Regions from separate parts of the Homo sapiens genome. Here all the other regions are linked to region 2. Evidence: promoter capture Hi-C in human tissues and cell types (Jung and others, 2019). All regions are on one chromosome and are shown on one strand. Each heading gives the region's core, a stretch centred on a gene start or on the middle of the fragment in contact. The rest is flanking DNA. Distances are from core to core; before and after follow the strand shown. Region 1 overlaps ZMYM4 (zinc finger MYM-type containing 4). Region 2 holds the start of ZMYM4 (zinc finger MYM-type containing 4). Region 3 has its middle 31 kb from the start of SFPQ.

Region 1 (2,700 bases), core at 65-2,564, 67 kb before region 2:
TCAAAGTTCAGCATGGCTGGAGAGGCCTCAGTAAACTTACAATTATGACAGAAGGGGAAGCTGGCATGTCTTACATGGTAGCAGGCAAGAGCACGAAGAGCACATGAAAACTACCATTTATAAAACCATGATACCTCATGAGAATTCACTCGCTGTCACAAGAACAACATGGGGGGAACTGCCCCTATAATCCAATCACTTCCCTTTTGTAGAGACATGAGGACTACAGGTCACTCCCTTGAATGTGGGGATTACAATTCAAGATGAGATTTGGGTGGGGACACAGAGCCAAACCATATCATGTATTACATAAACAACTGAATATGATTCAGCCTTAAAAATGAAGGTAATTGGCTGGGTGTGGTGGCTCATGCCTGTAATCCCAGCATTTTGGAGGGCTGGGGTGGGCAGATCACCTGAGGTCAGGAGTTTGAGACCAGCCTGACCAATGTGGTACAGTCCTGTCTCTACTAAAAATACAAAATTATACCCAAAATACAAAATTAGCCAGGGATGGTGGCACACGCCTGTAATCCTAGATACTCGGGAGGCTGAGGCAGGAGAATCGCTTGAACCTGGGAGGTGGAGGTTGCAGTGAGCCAAGATCCCACCACTGCACTGGAGCCTGGGCAACAAGAGTGAAACTCTGTATCAAAAAAAAAAAAAAGGTAATTGTGACTCATGTTACAACATGTGTCAGAATGTTCAACATGGTACCACAAGGTTCAACATGATGAACCTTGAGGATACACTAAAGTATCATTTTTACCTTAAAAATGAAGGCAATTCTAACACATGCTACATGTATCAGAATGTTCAACATGGTACAAGAAGGTTCAACATGGTTCCACAAGGTACAACATGATGAACCTTGAGGATATGCTAACGTACACACAGTTACTACCATAGTCAAACTCTTAGAAGATAAAACTTCTAAGGTTGCCAGGGGATGAAGAGGGGGTGATGAGGACTTATTGATCAATGGGTACAGAGTTTCACTTTTGCAGGATGAAAAAGTTCCAGAGATCTGTTGCACAACAATGTGAATATACTTAACACTACTGAACTGCACACTTAAAAATGGCTTAGGTGGTAAATTTTATGGTTTTTTGTTTTGTTTTGTTTTTTTGAGACGGAGTCTCGCTCTCTCGCCCAGGCTCACTGCAAGCTCCGCCTCCCAGGTTCACGCCATTCTCCTGCCTCAGCCTCCCGAGTAGCTGGGACTACATGCGCCTGCCATCACGTCCGGCTAATTTTTTATATTTTTAGTAGAGACAAAGTTTCACCGTGTTAGCTAGGATGGTCTCGAGCTCCTGACCTCGTGATCCACCCACCTTGACCTCCCAAAGTGCTGGGATTACAGGTGTTGAGCCACTGCGCCTGGCCCAGAATTTTATGTTTTTTCCACAATTTAAAATAGTTATATATTTATATAATGAATTATCATGCATTGGTGACAAACAAATAAACAAGAACCGCATACAACAATGCAGTAAAATCTCAGAAATACGCAATGAGGGCCAGGCATGGTGGCTCACACCCGTGATCCCAGCATTTGCGAGGCAGAGGCGGACGGATCAAGAGTCCTGGTCAGGAGTTTGAGATCAGCCTTGCCAGCATGGTGAAACCTCGTCTCTACTAAAAATATAAAAATTAGCCAAGTATGGTGGTGGGTGCCTATAGTCCCAGCTACTCGGGATGCTGAGGCAGGAGAATCACTTGAACCCGGGAAGCAGAGATCGCAGTGAGCCGAGATCGCGTCACTGCACTCCAGCCTGGGTGACACAGCGAGACTCTGTCTGGGAAAAAAAAAAAAATGCAATAGGGAATAAAAGCAAGTGGTAACACACAGCATGATTCAAAAACAATACAAAGCTCAAAACCAAGCAAAACTACAAATATTCAATAATTGTGGTAAAGGAAAAGCAAGAAAATAAACACAAAATTCAGGATGATGGCTACCTTTTTGGAGAGGTGGCTACTTGTATGAGACTGGGAAATTGGCATCAAGAGCATGAAAATATACATTTTAAAAAGCTAAGTGGTTAAGCGTTTTCATAAAATATATCTTACATTGTAAGTTTATTTTGTGTTTAATAATTTATAAAAAGTTTTCGAAGTATTCCGAGAAATAACTAAGGAGTGAGAAAAACTTTCTTAAACAAGACTGAAAACCCAGATGTCATAAACGATACCAAAATGTTTAAGTGTCAAAAACATTTATTTAGCTCAAGATGACACAAAAAGGGAGTCAAATGAGGGAAATCAGAACTCCTGCCCCCATCAAAAGAACTTTACATTATGCATTCTCAAAGTTAAAAATCCTGAATGAATAGTGATTGTCTATTATGTATATCTGAATCTTCTTTCAGATGTATGCTTTACTGTGCTTACTGTGACTCACCATAACAGCTATTATTAAAATATAAAACAAGCTTACAACTTGCTATGAAGAAAAAGTAAACTTTTTTTAAAGGGCAAAAGATATTCATTCTTCAACAAATATTTATTACTAGACAATACAGAGAAAGCCAGTCTAAATGTTAAACTTATTAAAAGCTGCTCAAATTCTACAGGAGTTGAGAACATACAAATTAAAGTTAAGGCTGTGATATTTTACATCCATCAGACTGGGAAATATTAAGAAGAGCTATAATATATACTAATGGATGGGGGAAGGTGTTCTTACTACACTGCTGG
Region 2 (2,700 bases), core at 31-2,530:
TGCTAATTGATCGTTTCTGAAACCATTCCCAAAAGGAAGACTCCTAAAAGGAAACTTACTTCTTATCATGCTAAGCGGGGAGGAAGTAAAAGAAAAGTGAGGGATATTGCTCAATCGATAGTACAGTATTGTTCGCCATCTGAAAAAAACCACTCAGAATTAAATAAGGAAAGTTTCCAGACAAACTTTAAAAGGTATTCAAACAACTCCTATGTAGAATTGGCTTCACCTCTGCAGGTTGATTGGGTACATCCCTGTTATGAGAAAACTTGTCGTATTCTTCCAAGTCCCTAATTGCGAGTAAGAGGCTAGGCTAGAACATGACATTCATAGTAGCCAAAATCTTTCTCCTAAATCAGGACATGCCAACGATCCCACTTCTTCACAGGTAAGACCACCACCCCGACTTTGGTCTAGATAACGGCTATGGGGGGAGGGGAAAGGAGGCAGGAAAATGAATTCGCGATGGTGTTACTGAAGAACCCTCCGGTTATTTCTCCTGAGACCCCTCCACGACTTATTCCCGCCACCACCACCCCCACCTGACCTCTCCCCAGTTAACTTCCAGACTCTGATGTACTAAAGATGCACTAAAGATGCACTTAAGAATCTGACACCTCCCCTCCCTGGGCCTAGATATCCCACCCCAGTGCTGGGGAACGTCGGGGGGAGGAAGGCAAACAACGGCCCCCTCCCCTCCCCCCCACCCAGCACCAAATCTTTGTCCCACCTGCCGAGGGACCGCTCGCCAGCGCGCTCCGGACCCAAGGCTGCCTCAGACCTGCCCGCAACCTTGTCCTAACTGGGCCTCGGCGACCCCTCCACGAACCTGAGTATGGCCCATTCCCGGCCCCGGGCCGCGCCCCGCCCCCCGCCGCCCGAGTTCTGCCTCACCTCACCTACCCTCTTTCGGGGGCCGGACTCCACCTCTCTCTCCGCCATGTTGGGCCCCGCTCGGAACCGCTGCGGCTCCCCGCGCGGTGGCGGCGGTACCTCTCGGCCCCCCGGCCCCCGCCCACACTGCAGGCACGGCCGCCTCGCGGCAGCTTCCCCGGACCCGGCCGGGCCTTGCGCCGAGAGTGGGGAGGGGGCGGATGCCGCGCGCCGGGCCGCAGCTTCTGAGATCCCACGGGTCCGCGCGTGGGCGGGAGGGCCTGCCCGGGGACGGGGTGGGGGCCGGGACTCGGGGGGTTAATGGCCTCCAAGGGGCCCCGTGAGTAGGATTATTTTCTCTCAGAGAAATTCCTCCGCCTGCGGTTTCTTAAAGGGATCACCAAATCAGCCCCTTGCGCGCGCCCCTGATGCGCAGGCGCACCCTAAGTCCCTCCTTCCTTTCCCACCAAGCCCCCGGTCCTGAGCGTGCGCGGTAAGTGGCCATGGGTAGGCCAAATCCTGCAAGTCTCTTTGCTGCCAGCAGCTGCTCCCACCACTCAACTATGGCCGCTCCCTTAAAGGGACCATGACGCAGGGATGAAGGAGAAATGAAAGAAATTACTGGAAAGACAATCTGGAGAATTGGGTGCAATGTCAGTGAAGGGTTCCACATCACCATCTTACACCTGACTACAGTGGTACCATTGAAGAGGGAAAGTCATGGTAAGCTGAAGTTCTCAGTGGACCTCTGAACATGAAGAATCCCAAACCAATGAGGGAACAAGACAGTCATCTCAAGGAAAACCAACTTTCCTCCCTTTCGACTGCCTGTTCTGAAGCACAAGGCATAGAATATCAAGAGCCAACTCCTATAACCTCACCTTAAAATCAAAGCTTTTGGTGATTTTGAAGATTGAACCAACAACTGGAAATAATTTCTTCAATAGTAATTTATCCTTAGAACATCAAAATGGAGAAGGATCTTAGGGAACCATTTACTCCAGTGCTCCCAATGATAAAATTGCAGCCTGATCATGGGAAGGAATTTGTCCCAATGTAACTAATGGCTGGTGTGGAGTTGGAATCAAGATTACAGTCTCAGTCCTCCAGGCTGTCTTCAGGCGAGAGATAAATTTGGTTTAATTTGATATCCCTAGAAGATTAAAAATTGAAGTTTCATGGTATTTGGAGAATATCATAATTCTCTTGTGAAGATGTAATGATTTGCAGATGATGGGTGTCCTCATTCACCTCTATTGAAGGAGCTTGACAATCTGCCTTAAAGGATAAGCATCTTATTTCTAAGCAGGAAACCAGGAAGTAGATTTGGGTCTATCTTGTTCCAAAACTGGGTCCTAAGCTGAAAATCGCTGAAAAGAATGAGGGCTTCATTCATTCCTCTTCTGTTCATTCTAGTTCCCACAAGCTTTGGGTGCAGAAAAAATTAAGTTTATAATGATAGTTCAGGGACAGTGGGGAGACATATAGTAAGAAATACAAAGAAGATGCCTCCTGAAGGTCATTTCCCATGACAAGACATATTCAAGTGGGAATGATAACTCCTGAAGTCACAGGATAATGAGATGTAACTTCTGTTTTCTGTTTTATTTAGCACTTGGTAGCTATTCTGAAACAGATGTTTTCTAATCTGTAATATTTTGCTGAAAACTTTTGGTGAAATTGCTGGAAGTTTCCATACTGGCCTTGCTTATGCCTTTAGCACTGTCTTTAATTTCACTCCTCGGTAGGAGAGAAGAAAGAAGGACAAAGAAATATGTTCATTTCAGCCAGAATTTTAAAAACATGTTCCCTTTAGTTCCATGTCCA
Region 3 (2,700 bases), core at 6-2,505, 110 kb after region 2:
TGCAACCTCTGCCTCCTGGGTTCAAGTGATTCTCCTGCCTCAGCCTCCCTAGTAGCTAGGATTAGAGGTGCATGCCACCACGGCCAGCTAATTTTTGTATTTTTAGTAGAGACGGGATTTTGCCATGTTGGCCACTCTGGTCTTGAAATCCTGACCTCAAATGATCCTCCCACCTCAGCCTCCCAAAGTGCTGGGATTATAGGTGTGAGCCACCATGCCCGACCTTTTTTTTTTTTTTTCTATTAGCTGATTTTTTCTACTGCTGTGGTTCACATTTTCCTGCTCCTTGACATGTCTAATAATTTTTCACTAGATCCTGGACATTGTGAATATCATGTTGTCGAATGTCTTACTTTTAAGAGTAATTAGTTTTGTTTTGGCAGGCAATTAGATTTGATAGAGCAAGTCTGGAGTGACTTTTTCTCTAGGCCTAATTCTAGTATTTCCACTGGATGCCTTAGGTGTATAACAAGGTTCTTCTATTCAGAATAGTCAGAATGTGAATGTCTCCCCAGCCCTTGTAAGCTCTAGGAATTGTCCAACATAAAACTCTCTAGTTGTTGTTCCTTTTTCAATAGTTGTTTTTTCTCTGACCTTGTGGAGTCTTGTTCTATACTTGCACAATTTAGTATTCTGCCAATAACTCCAAATAAATTTTATGCAGATTCTTTTTCTGTATAGCTCCCTTCTTTTTAGTATTTTGTTCCACAAGTTCCAGCTGCTTCAGCCTTATCAAACTCCAATCTCTGGCTGGGCTCAGTGGCTCATGCCTGTAATCCCAGCACTTTGGGAGGCCGAGGTGGGTGGACCACCTGAGGTCAGGAATTTGAAACCAGTCTGACCAACATGGTGAAACTCCGTCTCTACTAAATATACAAAAATTAGCCAAGTGTGCTGGCGCGTGCCTGTAATCCTAGTTACACAGGAGGCTGAGGCAGGAGAATCACTTGAACCTGGAAGGTGTAGGTTGCAGTGAGCTGAGATTGTGCTGCTACTGCAGTCCAGCCTGGGCAACTGGAGACTCTGTCTAAAAAAAAAAAAAAAAAAAAACTCTGAACTCTGTCTCCTCAATGCAGCAAGAACTCCACGCTCTTGTTTGGGTCCTCTTCTCTACACCATGGATCAGATAAAGCTTCCAGGCAGACAGCATGTGACAATCATGAGTTTCACTTTCACCCAGGCTGGAGTGCAGAGGTGCTTGCCTCATTTACTACCCTTTTTTCAAGAATCACAATCCTGTATAGCCTATTTTGCAATGTGTTATGGACTGAATTGTGTCCCCCAAAAATCCAATTGAAGTCTTAACCCCTAGTGTATCTCAGAATGTGACTATATTTGTAGATAGGGCCTTTCAAGAAATAATTAAGGTAAAATGAAGGCATACGGGTGAGGCCTTACTCCATTACGGCTAATATCTTTATGAGAAAAGGAAGAATCACCATGGATGAGTGGACCACATGAGGACCAGGAAAGGACACAGCAAGTAGACTGCCCTCTGCAAGCCAAGGAGAAAGACCTCAGAAGAAATTAAACCTGCCAACACTGCCATCTTGATCTTCTACACTCAAGAACTGTGAGAAAATACACTCCTGGCTTTTTTTTTTTTTTTTTTTCTGAAATGGAGTCTCACTCTTTTGCCTAGGCTGGAGTGCAGTGGCACAATCTCAGCTCACTGCAACCTCTGCCTCCCAGGTTCAAGCGATTCTCCTGCCTCAGACTCCTGAGTAGCTGGGATTACAGGCGCCTGCCACCATGCCCAGCTAATTTTTGTATTTTTAGTAGAGACAGGGTTTCACCATGTTGGCCAGGCTGGTCTCGAACTCCTGACCTCAAGTGATCTGACTCCTCCTCGGCCTCCCAAAGTGCTGGGATTACAGGCGTGAGCCACTGCACCCGGCCTATTTCTGTTTTTTTTTGTTGTGTTTTGTTTTGTTTTGAGACGGAGTCTCGCTCTGTTGCCCAGGCTGGGGTGCAGTGGCATGATCTCGGCTCACTGCAAGCTCCGCCTCCCAGGTTCATGCCATTCTCCTGCCTCAGCCTCCTGAGTAGGTGGGACTACAGGCGCCCATCACCACGCCCGCCTAATTTTTTGTATTTTTAGTAGAGACGGGGTTTTACCATGTTAGCCAGGATGGCCTCGATCTCCTGACCTTGTGATCCACCCGCCTCAGCCTCCCAAAGTGCTGGGATTACAGGTGTGAGCCACCGCGCCTGGCCCCTATTTCTGTTTTTTAAGCCACTAGTCTGGTATTTTGTTATGGCAGCTCTAGCAAACACATATACCATGTATGAACAGCAGTTGTTTTGTATACTTCATGCAGTTTTCTAGTTGTTTACAGCACTAAGGGAAATCTGGTACCAGTTTTCTGTCTGAGCTGGAAGCTGAATACAACAGATTTGTTTTAACAGAGACAGAACAAGTTGGAAAAAGTTATAAATAGTCACACGAATTTCCATTTTACACAGGAAAACGTAATGAACATTTTAAAAAACAGCTTAAATGAAGTAATTGATATACAATAAACTGCACATATTTGAAGTACAAACTTGATAAAGTTTGACATATGTATACACCAATAAGATCATTACCACTGTCAATCTAAATAATAAAGAGAAAGAGGCTCTCTAAAAGAAAAAGAGATTTATTCAGGAGTTACGCATTGCAATGGGAATATGTGTGCCACAGTAAACTATGTATAT

The links. The method cuts DNA at HindIII sites, captures the fragments that hold promoters and counts their contacts. A contact is called where the count stands out against the background at its distance.
Region 1: a contact is called between a fragment that was not itself captured here and the fragment with the promoter of ZMYM4 in region 2, in 2 of the 25 tissues and cell types used here (hippocampus and mesenchymal stem cells).
Region 3: a contact is called between a fragment that was not itself captured here and the fragment with the promoter of ZMYM4 in region 2, in 3 of the 25 tissues and cell types used here (H1 embryonic stem cells, liver and mesendoderm cells).

What each region holds. Positions count from the first base shown.
Region 1 is chr1:35,334,357-35,337,056 of GRCh38, reverse strand. The region is part of intron 2 of ZMYM4 (zinc finger MYM-type containing 4); the gene reads right to left. Among named protein-coding and RNA genes, the nearest start is that of ZMYM4-AS1, 30 kb to the left of the region's middle. The HindIII fragment of the contact is 3,886 bases long and covers 1-2,700 here.
Region 2 is chr1:35,267,289-35,269,988 of GRCh38, reverse strand. It overlaps ZMYM4 (zinc finger MYM-type containing 4), which reads right to left and starts at 1,280. Exons shown (of 30, transcript NM_005095.3): 1 at 904-1,280. The coding sequence starts at 942. RefSeq lists silencers at 761-890, 961-1,320 and enhancers at 1,451-1,510, 1,531-1,590. The HindIII fragment of the contact is 5,206 bases long and covers 1-2,033 here.
Region 3 is chr1:35,160,906-35,163,605 of GRCh38, reverse strand. No RefSeq gene overlaps it. Among named protein-coding and RNA genes, the nearest start is that of SFPQ, 31 kb to the left of the region's middle. The HindIII fragment of the contact is 8,860 bases long and covers 1-2,700 here.